Regions from separate parts of the Homo sapiens genome. Here region 1 is linked to region 2. The links are contacts of gene promoters, found by promoter capture Hi-C in blood cells and fetal thymus (Javierre and others, 2016). All regions are on one chromosome and are shown on one strand. Each heading gives the region's core, a stretch centred on a gene start or on the middle of the fragment in contact. The rest is flanking DNA. Distances are from core to core; before and after follow the strand shown. Region 1 overlaps RBPJL (recombination signal binding protein for immunoglobulin kappa J region like). Region 2 holds the start of WFDC5 (WAP four-disulfide core domain 5).

What was found. Contacts are between HindIII fragments. The CHiCAGO score rates a contact against its expected background, and 5 or more counts as called.
Region 1: a fragment that was not itself captured here is called in contact with the fragment with the promoter of WFDC5 in region 2 in 1 of 17 cell types (endothelial precursors); the score reaches 5.2 in endothelial precursors.

The regions. Positions count from the first base shown.
Region 1 is chr20:45,307,508-45,314,096 of GRCh38, reverse strand. RBPJL (recombination signal binding protein for immunoglobulin kappa J region like) reads right to left here. Exons shown (of 12, transcript NM_014276.4): 2 at 5,846-5,954; 3 at 4,405-4,530; 4 at 2,438-2,508; 5 at 2,143-2,258; 6 at 1,702-1,876; 7 at 492-629; 8 at 1-62. It overlaps MATN4 (matrilin 4), which reads left to right and starts at 5,798. Exons shown (of 10, transcript NM_001393530.1): 1 at 5,798-5,922. RefSeq lists a silencer at 2,425-2,474. The HindIII fragment of the contact is 2,139 bases long and covers 181-2,319 here.
Region 2 is chr20:45,113,030-45,119,639 of GRCh38, reverse strand. It overlaps WFDC5 (WAP four-disulfide core domain 5), which reads left to right and starts at 4,466. Exons shown (of 4, transcript NM_145652.4): 1 at 4,466-4,641. The coding sequence starts at 4,557. RefSeq lists enhancers at 4,029-4,528, 4,529-5,030. The HindIII fragment of the contact is 2,929 bases long and covers 3,318-6,246 here.

The DNA.
Region 1 (6,589 bases), core at 1-2,500, 200 kb before region 2:
GGAGCCATAGCGAACGTAGCCCTCTCGCGGTGGGAAGTCTCCTTGGGCAGAGTGCCCATCAGCTGGGGGACAAAAAAAGCAAGGGACAAGGTTTTCAGCGGCCCCCAAGCTTCTGCCTTAAACCCTGCCTTGTTGCCTCTGGCTCTTCCTCACATCACACATGGGCCCTGCGGGAAAGCTTGGTACTCAGGGGAGCCAACTGAAGGTTCTAATTCTGGAGAGGCCATTTGAGGCCATCCTCACAAATGTCTGCCCTGGGGGCAGGGGTTGGGGGCAGGCAGCTTAGTTGATATATGGGGAAAGGGCATGGATAAGGGAGTCAGAATAGCTTGGAACAGTCACCAGCTCACTGGGACTGTAGTCAAGTCTTTTTGTGTTTCTGAGCCTTAATCACATGGGGCAGAGTTTACCTTCCTTAAGGAGTTGTGGTGGAGGTTAAATAAGCTAATGCATGTGAAGTGCCCAGCTCCAGGGCCTGCAGATGTCATTACCCAGGTGGAGCGTGAAGGCAGCCCACTGTCGTGCACTGGCCACAAAGGCCCCATCCTCCACAGAGAGGTAGCGTGTGGAGACCGTCTGAGAGCGCAGGCGGTTGAAGAGGGAGACCTTTGAGCCGGAGGATATGCACACTGTGAGGGTGAGGGTCAGGGTTAGGGTGAGGGTGAGGGTCAGGGTTAGGGTGAGGGGATAGGGTTAGGGTTAGGATTGGGGTTAGGGTTAGGGTGAGGGTTAGGGTGAGGGTGAGGGTTAGGATTAGGGTGAGGGTTAGAGTGAGGGTGAGGGTAAGGATTAGGATTAGGGTGAGGGTTAGGGTGAGGGAGGGGGTCAGGGTGAGGGTTAAGGTTAGTTGGTGCTATCAGTGCCCTGTCCTGGCTTGGTTCCTTGGACTTTCCAGACAGTTTCCAATCTTCTGTCCCTGTGCCGGCCTGGCTAATGTGCCCACAGGCCTAGATACACTGGGCATTCCCAGTTCACAGCTGTTTTTCCAGGACCTGCTGCAGTCCTGCTTTGGAACCTTTGCCTGTTCCTTTGCTGTCTGGACATCTTTCAGTTCAACAAACAAAAGTAAAACTTTTTTTTTTTTTTTTTGAGATAGCATCTCACCCTGTCACCCAGGCTGGACTGCCGTGGTGCTATCACAGCTCACTGCAGCCTCGACCTCTTGGGTTCAAGTGATCTTCTGATCTCAGCCTCCCACGTAGCTGGGACAACAAGTGCAGGCCACCATGCCAGGCTAATTTTTCTTTTTCTTTTTTTTTTTTTTTTTTTGGTACAGACAAGATTTCGCCATGTTGCCCTAGCTAGTCTTGAACTTCTGGGATCAACTGATCCGCCCACCTTGGCCTCCCAAATTGTTGGGATTACAGGCATGAGCCACCGTGCCCCACCTATGTCACTTTTAGTCTGTCCCTAGTTCAACTCCTGCCTAGTTCAACTTTTGTCTGCTCTGGGACCCCAACTCCCAACCTGGAATTTGGTATCTGTCCCTTTCCTCTCTGCTTTTCATCCTCCAACTCTTCTCATCCCCAGGCCTGGGCCGCACCCACTCATCCAGACTCCTTCCCCTCTCGGCTCCGACTCCACCTTTTCCACTCTGACCCCTAAGCCCAGCCTACCCCCACCTCCGCGCCCCAGTTTAGCCGTTCTGGGCTTGGTTGCACCTCCCCGCCCGGGCCGGGGGTCAGGCCCCGCCCTGCTCACGATCGGTGTTTTTCAGCGACTGCTTCTTCTGCGAGGGCTTCGAGATGACCTTGATAAGGCGGCTGTGGAAGGTACCCAGCTCCCGGCCCCCGCGCAGCACCAGCCGCAGCACCAGCCGAAAGTGCTTCCTCTTGTCTGCATCTGAGATGTACAGGGTCTTGGCGCAGCCGAATTCCTAGGGGGCTCACAGGTACAGGGCCATCTCATCCCAGCCCTCCCCCGTCGGATGAACCAACCTCTCCCAGATATCGGACGTCCGCCCCGTCGGAGGTGACCAGAAGCTCCACCATCCAGGCTCTCAGGCTCGGCCTTAAGGCAGGACCCCGGCCTCCCGGTCTCCCCACCTATCTCTTGGCTTTCGGAGGGGAGTAAAGGAGCCCTCCTTTCCCAGGAGAGGCAGGGATGGGAGCAGGAATCGGACCCCTTCCCGTGCGCTCTCACCCTGGAGTCCGGCTGCTGCTCGAAATTCAGCTTCTGCGTCTCAGTGGCGCTGCCGGACGCGCTGTCCAGTCCCATGTAACCGCAGACCGTGGGCCCCGTTTCCCCCGCCTGGTGAGCTGGAAAGGGACGCGAACTGGCTCTGCAAGGACTCGGGAGGACGCAGGTGCCAGGCAAGCTTAGCGCTCGCCGCCAGAGGGCGCGGGGAGACTGCGCCTGCGAACCGCCCCGTCTCGGGCCCAATCTCGTGGTCCTCCCTACAGAGCAGGCGGCCGGCAGCCCTTGATTCCGCCCTCACCTTGATCCTGCCCTGGCTTCACCCTCCAGCCAGGCCCCGAGAGGTAGACACAGGGCGGGGGGCAGAAGAACCTGCGGAGATAAGTGAGTGTTGGAGTCGTGCATCCATCTCCACTTGGCTCTCCTGTAAGCACGGCAAGGTAGTAGCATAAACCCAGCAGAACCTTCGTTTCCTCCTCCCGCTCCCCGCAACGCTTTTTCACGACTGTAAACCCCATTCATAGCCAAACCTTATTGTTTTTACACCCCTCATTCAACTCATCAGAAGGTCCTGTCCACTCCACCTTCAAAATATAATATATCCAGAATCCACTGGCTTTTTACCACCTCGCCCTTCATCCCAGCCGCCATTACTTTTTGCCTGGACCACAGCATCAGCCTTCAAACTGGTCTATTTCCAGAAAGTTCTGTTTCTATCTCCTTCCCATTTCGCACAGCAGCCAGAGTGCTCCTTCCTTCCTTCCTTCCTCTCTCTTTCTTTCTTTTTTTCTTTCATTCCTTCCTTCCTGTTTCTTTCTTTTTCTTTTTCTTTTTTTTTTTTTTTGAGGCAGGGTCTTGCTCTGTTGCCCAGGCTGGAATGCAGTAACTTGATCTCGGCTGTCTGGGCTCACTGCAACTTCTGCCTCCCCAACTGATCCTCCCACCTCGGCCTCCTGAGTAGGTGAGACTACAGACACAAGCCACCACACCCATCTAATTTTTGTGTTTTTTGTACAGACATGGTTTTGTCATGTTGCCCATGCAGGTCTGGAACTTCTGGGCTCAAGCAATCTGCCCACCTGGGTCTGCCGAAGTGCTGGGATTACAGGGATGAGCCACCAGGCTGGCCAGAGTGTTTTGTTAAAAACATGAGTCAAATCATGTTAACTCCTTAAAATCCTCCACTGGTTTAAAATTCAAAGTCCTCCTGAGATCTGACCCCTGCTTACCTCTCTGACTTGTTTCCTACAACTCCTCCCTCTGATTTCAGCCACTGTCATTTCTTTTGTACCTCAAACAGGCCTAATTGGTACAGCCTCAAGGTCTTCCCATTTTCTGTTGCCCTTTTTTTTTTTGAGACTGAGTCTTGCTCTGTCGCCAGGCTGGAGTGCAGTGGCATGATCTCGGCTCACTGCAACCTCCGCCTCCCGGGTTCAACCAATTATCCTGCCTCAGCCTCCTGAGCAGCTGGGATTACAGGTGCCCGCCACCATGCCCAGCTAATTTTGTATTTTTTGGTAGAGAGGGGGTTTCACTGTATTGGCCAGGCTGGTCTCGAACTCCTGACCTCAGGTGATCCGCCCGCCTCGGCCTCCCAAAGTGCTGGGATTACAGGTGTGAGCCATCGCGCCCGGCCCTTCTGTTCCTTCTAATTGTAGCACGCTTTCCCCAGATATTCTCCTGTCTGGCTCCATTTCAGCATTCAAGTTTCAGTTCCAATGTTACCTCCCAAAAGGTCTCTCAACCTCCTTGACCTTTCTAGCTAATGTCCCCCCTGCCTTCAGTTTCCGTCAAATGGCCTCGTTCAGTTTTCCTTCTAGTGCTCATCATAATCTGCAAGTATCTTGTTTCCTGACTTGTGGGGAGTTTACTGTCTGTCTCTTCCACACTTGAGTGAGAGTGTGGGCTACAGAGCAGGGGCTGTTTCTGTCTTGTTCAGCTGTATGCCCAGTGCCCAGCAGTACCCACAGAGCCTGGTGCATACATGACAAACACTCAGTAAGTAGTTGTTGAATGAATGAATAAGTGAATCAATGGGAGAATGAGTGAATGAATGGAGACAGGAGATTCACAGGGAATCTCCTGCTGTAGAACTATAGACCAAAGTGGGGGCTAATGGTGGCTGAGGGTCAAGGCCCTGGTCGACCAATAGCTGAGATCTCAGCCCTGAGGCCTGCTCTGCGTCTAAAAGAGGCCCAATGGGTGGATGGAGGAGGTGCATAGGGCTGACAGTTGCAGAGACCTGGGAGGGGCTGCGGAGGCACCTACCGCTTCTCATTTCCGTATGATTTCTGGGCCACCTTGGCATGCAGGATCCGCACAGTCTGTTCACACTGTTGCTGCAGGCACCTGCGCACGCCTCCCCTCAGAATGGTGGTGTGCTCTGGGGATGACCTGGGAGTAGGGCAGGCAGGTCGACCAGCCACAGGAGGGAGAAGGGTCAAGGTGGCACAGGGTCCAAGCACTCAGGTTGAGTAAAATGAAGTGAGCAGGGGGTTAGAGTGAGTGGGAGGGTGGGGCTGCTCTATATCCTGCCCCTGTGGGGTCAGGAAGAGGAAGCATTAGGTAAGGAGGAGACTTGGCTGCAAATTGTAGGCTAAATATTTAGGCTGCAAGGTGCTCAACGAAGCCTGCATGGAACCCATGGGACCACCCAGGTTCCACTCTGTGGGTCTGGCATCATGCCCATTGGAGCCCAGGGCCATAGGGACACGTGGCTGTGACACAAAGGCTGCACTTATACTGGCCTTGGGATGGAGAAGAGTATTTTAGGGCTGATGGAATTGGTAGAGATGAAGCTTCCCCACCCTGGGGAAGGCAGGGTGGGGGGTGAGGAGGGAGGGGAAGGGAGAGCCTTTCCTGGGCTCCTGGCCTGGAGCGCTCTCTAGCCTCCTGCCTGCAAACAGAAAAGGGCCCAAAACCTTGTCCTCAGGATGGGGGATGGCCTGGGGGAATCTGAGCCTTTCTGGGGCCAAAGCCATATTCTTCCCTTTCTCCCATGAGAAGTGGCCTGTTGCTGTGTGGGCTTTCCTACCCTTGATTACAGGAGTCAAGGCAGATGACATTGGTCCTGCAGAGTGAGCCAGGTTAGAGCCTAGAGGTCTGGTGGCTTCTTAACCTGGGGGTCTTGAGCGGTGTGGGTGGGTAGGCCCGAGCAATTGCAGGGAGCAAGTAGAGGAGGGGAGGTGGGAGAGATTTGGGGGGTTAGCAGGTTGAGGCCCAAGGAGAGCCATGAAAACTGAGGCTGTCCTTCTGAGCCCTTATTCCTCTTGGCAGGACCAGAGTCTCTCCTCACTCCTGGAGGGGACAGCGCAAGACCGCACCCTCGAAAGCCAGGCCAGACAGGCAGCAGCCACAGCCAGGACCGCTCCACCCCTTGGGGCTCTCCTCAGGGAAGTGCCTTCTAAGCTTCCAATGAATTCCGGCTGTGGAGTGTGGCTGCCCCGGTCTCCCCAGTCTCCCGCTGTAGCTGAATTCCAGCCTGGCCCGCAGCTAGCCCTGTCTGCAGCTCCAAGCGTGGTAGGAGCAGGGGGTGCTGGGTTTGCCCCCCCTCAGGAGGAAGGGGGGATCCCTCCCTGCCAGTGGGAGGGGTTGCAGCCTGCACTTCCCCTCCCCACCCGCCAGCCCTGGGTTAAATGCGGCCGTTGCCTCTGTGTGCTCCAGCTGCCTGGCAGTCCCCACCTAGGGCACGCTGCCACGCCGCCGTTACCTGGTCCAAGTGCCCGGGAGGCTCCGCCTGTCGGCTTCGCTCTGCAGCTGCATCTCTGATCTGTCCTGCAGGCTCAGGTGAGTCAAAGGATTGGGAGGCACTGAGGGGTCTGCAGGGGAGTAGGCATCAAGCCAGGTCAGGCGAGTGTATTTTAGCAGAGACGCTGCCTAGGGTGCCCTATCTGATTTGCAGTGCCCTTCCCCACTTCTGCAGGGTCCTTTCCAAATCGAGCCCCCACCCTCAAAGCCATCAAAATAGGATCATCCCTTTTCTACTCTCATCCCTCCAGGAACCCCCTGAAATGTCCCTAAGGGACTTTTGAGAATTTATTTACAGGCCTCTCCTCCCTTGCTGCTCCACTCCCTCAACCTCACCTCAGGGCATCTCTGAATCTTTCTTTTTTTAATGCAAGGATTAACTCCTCAGAGGAATCCCAGGTTCTAGTATCAGTCCTGCCACGACATCGCCATGTACCCTTCAGCAAGACACTACCCTCTCTGGACCTAGTTCCTTTCTTTGTAGAATGAGGGGTTTGGAAAGGTGATGAACTTTGAGGCATTTGCTATTTTGACTTTCTAGGATTCCTGGGGTGGAGGCAGGGTGCCAGGTGAGAAGTTGGCTCAGACCAAGAATGGGATGAGGGGAACCTTAACCAAGATTTAGGGGCCCAGAGGCATCTCCGGGTAGGAAAGTATGGGAGGTGGCAGAGGCCCCTTGTGCCTTAGCCCTCATGCTGTCCAGGGA
Region 2 (6,610 bases), core at 3,217-5,716:
CAGCAAACTTCATAGTTGTCTGATTTTTTAAAATTGCCACAGTCAACCTATCCTTCAGAAACCACTACCCTGATCATTCAGCAGCCTCAACATCAAGGTAAGACCCTCCGCCAGCAGAAAGATGATGATGACTCACTGAAGGCTTACATGATTATTAGCATATTTTAGCAATAAAGTATTTTTAAATTAAGGTACATACTTATTTTAGACAAATGCTATTTTGCACTTAATAGACTACACTATAGTGCAAACATAACTTTTAGATACACTGGGAAACCAAAAAATCCACATGGCTCACTTTAATCCCAGCATTTTGGGAGGCCAAGGTGGGAGAATCACTTGAGTCCAGGAGTTAGAGACCAGCCTGGGCAACATAGGAAGGCCCCCGCCCCCCGCATCTCTACAAAAAATAAAAACTAACCAAATATTATTGCAATATTCTCTTTATTTCAGTGGTCAGGAACTGAACCCACAATACATGCTTGTCTGTGCTGGCATAAGAATAAACAGTCAAAAGAAAAGAACGGGCAAGGCACGGTGGCTCACGTCTGTAATCCCAGCACTTTGTGAGGCTGAAGCGGGCAGATCACAAGGTCAGGAGATTGAGAGGAGCTTGACCAACATGGTGAAACCCTGTCTCTACTAAAAATACAAAAATTAGCTGGGTGTAGTGGCATGTGCCTGTAATCCCAGCTACTCAGGAGGCTGAGGCAGGAGAATTGCTTGAACCCGAGAGGTGGAGGTTGCAGTGAGTCAAGATCATGCCACTGCACTCCAACCTGGGTGACAGAGCGAGACTCCATCTCAAAAAAAAAAAAGGAAAAGAAAAAAAATGAAAACCCATAAACAGCCCCTGTTACAATAAGACTTAAGTTATTGATAAAGTTTTAATTCTTAATCAATGGCAAAAGTTTAAATTATTCACTAAATGATCATAGGACAATTGCTTAATTACTTACAAAAAAAAGATATTTCCTATTTCACGCTCTATACCAAGATAAACTTCAGCTAGATTAAAGAATTATCATGTCTTTCAAAAATCACAAAATAATAACAAGTAAATATAGTGAATATTTATCTAACATCAGAGTCAAAAAGCCTTTTTAGCATAAAAATAAAAGGAGAAAATATGAATGAAAAGATTGAATTGATTACCCCAAAATTTAATCCTTTGGTACTAAGCAAAAATGAGGAAAGAAATATTTGCAATATAGCATCAAAGCATTTATCAAGTTTATCTCATTCAGTTCTCAGAACCATCCTATAACACGTATATGATTATCTCTATCTCTACTGGTATACAAAAATAAACAGGGGTTTTACAAAATTAATGTCAAACAGATAGAGCCTATGGCACCAAGATTCAAAACTAGGTCTGCCTAACTCCAATATACATCTGTTCACTACTGCCCCTTGTGTATGACAGGTTAATAGATTCTTAATATATAAACAGCTCTTAAAACTCAAAAATAAAAGGACCCCCAATAAAAATGAGCAAAATACAAAAACAGGCAATTCACAGAGAAAGGATACAGTCAGTATGCGAATATGAAGAAATGCTCACCATCATGGGTATTAAGAGGAAGAGGAAGACAAATTAAAATGAAATATTGTTTTCCGTTAGCAAAGATTTTATTTACTTATTTTTTTAATATCCTGTATGTAGTAAGAATATCCACTAAGGATCTTTGGCTGTGAGCAACAGCATCTGAGCTTTGGACTGTTCTGTTTAGAGAACTGGCTTATCTGTTCAAGACTCTAATGAAGGCGTGGGCAAGTTAGGGGTGGAGAAGAGTGCAGTGGGTGTAACCTGGATCCAGTGCCCTCAGCTTTGATAGGAGAAGTACCTGCTGATTGGCAACCAACCAGAATGACAGCAGTCAGGAGGCAATGGTTCCACCAAAGGAAGAGACGCTGGGCAGACGAAACAATAGAGGTCTATGGCAGGGCAGGTGGAGGCTCTTGTACACTCACTTACTTCCTTTCTGAAATTTAATTTGACCAGATATATCCAACGCCTGGAAACATGACTGTGCCTTTTGACCTAGCATTTCTAACTTTGACAAATTTACTTTAAGAAAACAGTCAGAGATGTGACTCCAAAATGTACACAAAAAGATGGTTATCACAGCTTTATTTATGAAAGTGGAAAATTGGAAACCTCCATGTTTCATAATAGGATACTGATTGTGTATATTTTGGCATATCTTTTTTCCCTAAAAACTTTACTGAAGTGATGTTTTGACATATAGATCTAACAAAACAGCATGTAGCCATCAGAAAACATGATGTTTAGAGAACATTTCACAGCACAGGAAAATGTCTACAAAATAATTTTAATTTAAAAAGCATTGGCATGGTGGCTCATGCCTGTAATCCCAACACTTTGGGAGGCCGAGGCGGGTGGATCACCTGAATTCAGGAGTTTAAGACCAGCCTGACCAACATGGTGAAACCCCGTCTCTACTAAAAATACAAAAAATTAGCCAGGCATGGTGGCGGGCGCCTGTGGTCCCAGCTACTTGGGAGGCTGAGGCAGAGAATTGCTAGAACCCAGGAGACGGAGGTTGCAATGAGCAGAGATTGCCCCATTGCACTCCAGCCTGGATGACAGAGGAAGACTCCGTCTCAAAAAAAAAAAAAAAAAAAAAAAAAAGAGCATTTCATGGCTGAGCACAGTGGCTCACCCCTGGAATCCCAGCACTTTGGGAGGCCAAGGTGGGAGAATCACTTGAGTCCTAGAGTTAGAGACCAGCCTAGGCAACATAGGAAGACCCCCCATCTCTACAAAAAATAAAAACTAGCCAAATATTGGGGCGCATGCCTATAGTCCCAGGTACTCAGGAGGCTGAGGCAGGAGGACTACTTGGGTCCATGAGGTCAAGGGTTCAGTGAGCCATGATGGCACTGTGCACTCCAGCCTGGGTGACATAGCGACATTCTGTCAAAGACAGAGAGAGAAAGAGAAAGAGAGAGAGGAAAGAAGAAGGAGAAGGAGAGAAAGAAAGAAAGAAAGAAAGAAAGAAGGAGAAAGGAAAGAAAGAGAGGAAAGAAGGAAAGAAAGAAGAAAGAAATAAAAAAGGAAAGAAAGAAGAAAGAAAAAGAAAGAAGAAAGAAAGAAAAGAAAGAAAGAGAAAGGAAAGAAAGAGAGGAAAGAAGGAAAGAAAGAAGAAAGAAATGAAAAAAGGAAAGAAAGAAAAAGAAAAAGAAAGAAAGAAAAGAAAAAAGAAAGAAAGAGGGAGGGAGGGGTGGAGGGAGGGAGGGGTGGAGGGAGGGAGGAAGGAAGGGCTCATATATTTGTCCTCCAAAATAAAGCTTCCAAGGAGGTGCCAGCATTCCAAAAGCAACATCAGATCATAGAAGACAGAGCCTCTCCTATCTTAATAGCTTAGAAGACAGCACGAGAGATTCACATTAAACCCAAGGAAGAACTTCCTGCTGCCAGGGCTGTCCTGGATTGGAATGGGTAAGTGAGACAAGCCCTGTAATATCACCCTCCTTTCTCAGGATCAGATGAGGTATTGACCTGCTTTTAAAACCCAGGAACTGAATGAGGGTGATGGGGAGGCCACAGTGGGAAGTCCCAGCTTAGTCAGGAATTAGCTGCGTGTCCTTGGGCCAGTCCCCTCTCATCTCTATCTCACAGTTTCCTCGTCTTTCAAATGAGAAGGCTGAGAGAATGTACTTCGATGGAGTTTCTGTTTAGGATGTCCCTTAGGATGCCAAGTCTCAGCTCCCTCTCTTCTACCAAATGCAGGAGGCAACATCAGAGATACGAAATCTAAGGTGGGGGTCCCTGGATGAGATGACATTTTTTTGCTCAGGATCCCTTAGGGCCAGAGAAGAGGTTCCAGTGGCCACACATCTGCTGTGACCAGCAAACTTAGCCAAGCCAAAAGCCATGCTCCCCCACCCTCAACAGCCAAGCCAGCCCCAGGAAGAGGGCAGTTCTATCAGAAGCCACTGGTGATCTCACCAAAGGCGGGGTGGTCTTTCTCCCATCCACAGGACCCAAGAGGAGAGGCCAGGGCTGGCCTCACTCATTATGCCAGCCTGGGCCAGCCTTCTTTGGCTGCAAGCTCTGGCCTAACCCTAATGCCTTCTCCCTTCCTAGGCATCCAGAACTCTGCAAACCCCCACTCCTTTGCTATTCAAAGCTGACCTCTACCCGCTGCCTAGACATCGCTGGGGCTTCAACATCTTTGAGAGCCAGGATAGCAAGCATCTGCCTCAACAACCTTCACCCTGTGTACAGATGAAAAAACTGAAGCCCAGAGAGACAAGACTTGCCCAAGATCACAGCCCAAGTCACCGATACAGGCAAGACTGGATCTGAGTCCCCCACATGCAGGATGTGCCGCCACCCTATCTTCAGCTATTGTGACAGCATCCCTTGCACTGAGTCCTCGGGCCCTCAGGGGGTGGGGCCAAGATGAAGCAGGCACGGTGTCACTCCACACCCCCTCTCTTTCCTCTCCTGACTAAGTTTCTCTGGCTTCCCTGAGGCTGCAGGTGTTAATCTGGGGGGCCCTGGGCCCTGAGCCGGCAGCAGAAATATGAGGACCCAGAGCCTTCTCCTCCTGGGGGCCCTCCTGGCTGTGGGGAGTCAGCTGCCTGCTGTCTTTGGCAGGAAGAAGGGAGGTGAGTGCGGGAAATCCCTCTGCTGGGGGGACCAGATTGTCTCTACTTCTCTAGGGAGAGTAAGGGTTTGGGGGAAGGCAGGTAATGCCCTGTGGGGTGTGTGTGCGCGTGTGTGTGTGCGTGCGTGCGTGTGTGTATGTGTGGATGCCTGATTCTTAGTGCTTTCAGAAGCCTGTGTTTTTATGTGTGTACATTTGTGCCTGTCCACCTGCCTGTGTTGGTATCTGTAAGTGTCTTTTCTGCCAGTTTCTCGGTGCTTGTCTGTGCCTGTCTATATGTCAGGGGGTGGCAGGGCGGGGAATGCATGTGCCTGTGTCTGTGTAGACATGTGTCTTTGCGTCTGCTTGTCTGTGCAAAGCTCTGTCTGCACACGTACACTTAGGAATGGCTGCACGCATGTGTCTGAGCTTGGTGCCTGTCCATGTGTGTCTCTGTGCCTTCAGGTGTGGGGAGGGACCCTGTCTGTGCCTGCTGGGCTGTGGTGTGACTGGGTCAGTGGGTCCACCACCCCATCTGTGGAAGGGACTTGGGAATTGAGGAGAGGGTGTGGCTTCTGGGATCTGGGCTTTGTGGGGAGGAAGCTCTGTCTCTAACTCTCATCGCCCCCAACCTCCTGTCCCCATTCCCACCCCTGACAAGGCTGGGGCTGGCCTGCTGACAGGTGAGGGAGGGCTGCTGAGTGGCTAGACAGGTGACTCCTGATCTGGGTGAGGCCTCCACCTGCGTCCTTTTCTGGGGCTGGAACACTCCAACCTACATTCACCTGTGCAACCCTTGCCCTGCCTTAAAGAAAGGGGACAGTAATGGGGACAGGCTGAGGAAGGAAGTACACTGGTGAGCTCCAAGGCTGGACCCTGTGTTGGCTGTGATTCATGCACCATCATCACGTAACTCCTCGACAAGGTGCTGTGAGGACAGGACTATTTTCATCCCCATTTTGCAGATGAGGAAAATTGAGGCATAGCGGGGAACCACTTAACAAGGTCAAAGACTGACTCTGAGTTAGTGCCAAATGTGGCATTTGAATGCAAGTATTTGAAATCAGAAAGATTCACCTTACCAACTATTACAGCAAAAACCCAGGACTGTACAGGACAATGCACCCCCAACATAGGAAGGAGCTGAGAGACCAGAGAATGACTTAGACAAGGCCAGATTAGCAAGTGCATGAGTGCAAGTATTTGAAATCAGAAAGATTCACTTTACCAACTATTACAGCAAAAACCCAGGACTGTACAGGACAATGCACCCCCAACATAGGAAGGAGCTGAGAGAACAAAGAATGACTTAGACAAGGCCAGATTGGCAAGTGCATGAGTTTATTAGGACTTCCAGGCAGGACACTCCTGGAAGGCAACAGGACAGGTCTGGAGACTTACTCCTTGTAAAATGGGGTCCCATGCCTCTCTCTCAGGAGTAAATGGTGTCTCGAGGAATAAGGGCCTGGCACACAGTAAGCACAGCATAAGTGGGTGATTTGGGGGAGTCATTGTGTTCCCAGGGAGCACACCCCAATATTCAGCCCAGCTGCTCAGAGGCAAAGAGCTGGCACAGCAGAAACCGAGCCTGCGCAGGGCCACTCTGCATGGGCAGGTGTGACAAGCTTGTCTCTCCCCCAGTTCACCACACCTTGTCCCCCACTGGTTTCTCTCCTGTAAGACATTGCCGAGCTGTTGGTAGAATTTCAGACAATGGAGGAAGGTGACGAAGCCAAGGGAAGGGAAGTCTCAGTTTGTTGCCTGTGGAAGCCCAGCCGCCTCTGTTTATAAGAGCTCCCCATTCTGCCCCCTTCTCACTCAAACGTCTGGGTGTCTCTGATACAAAGAGCCTGGCATAGTCCCTGATAAACAGCAAGTGCCTAATTAAATGCTGTCAGTGGTTATGTGGTATTGGGAAGATATATGTGTCTGTGTAGCTCTGTGCATATGATTCTGTATATATGACTGTGTATGCTTATGTATGTCTCTCT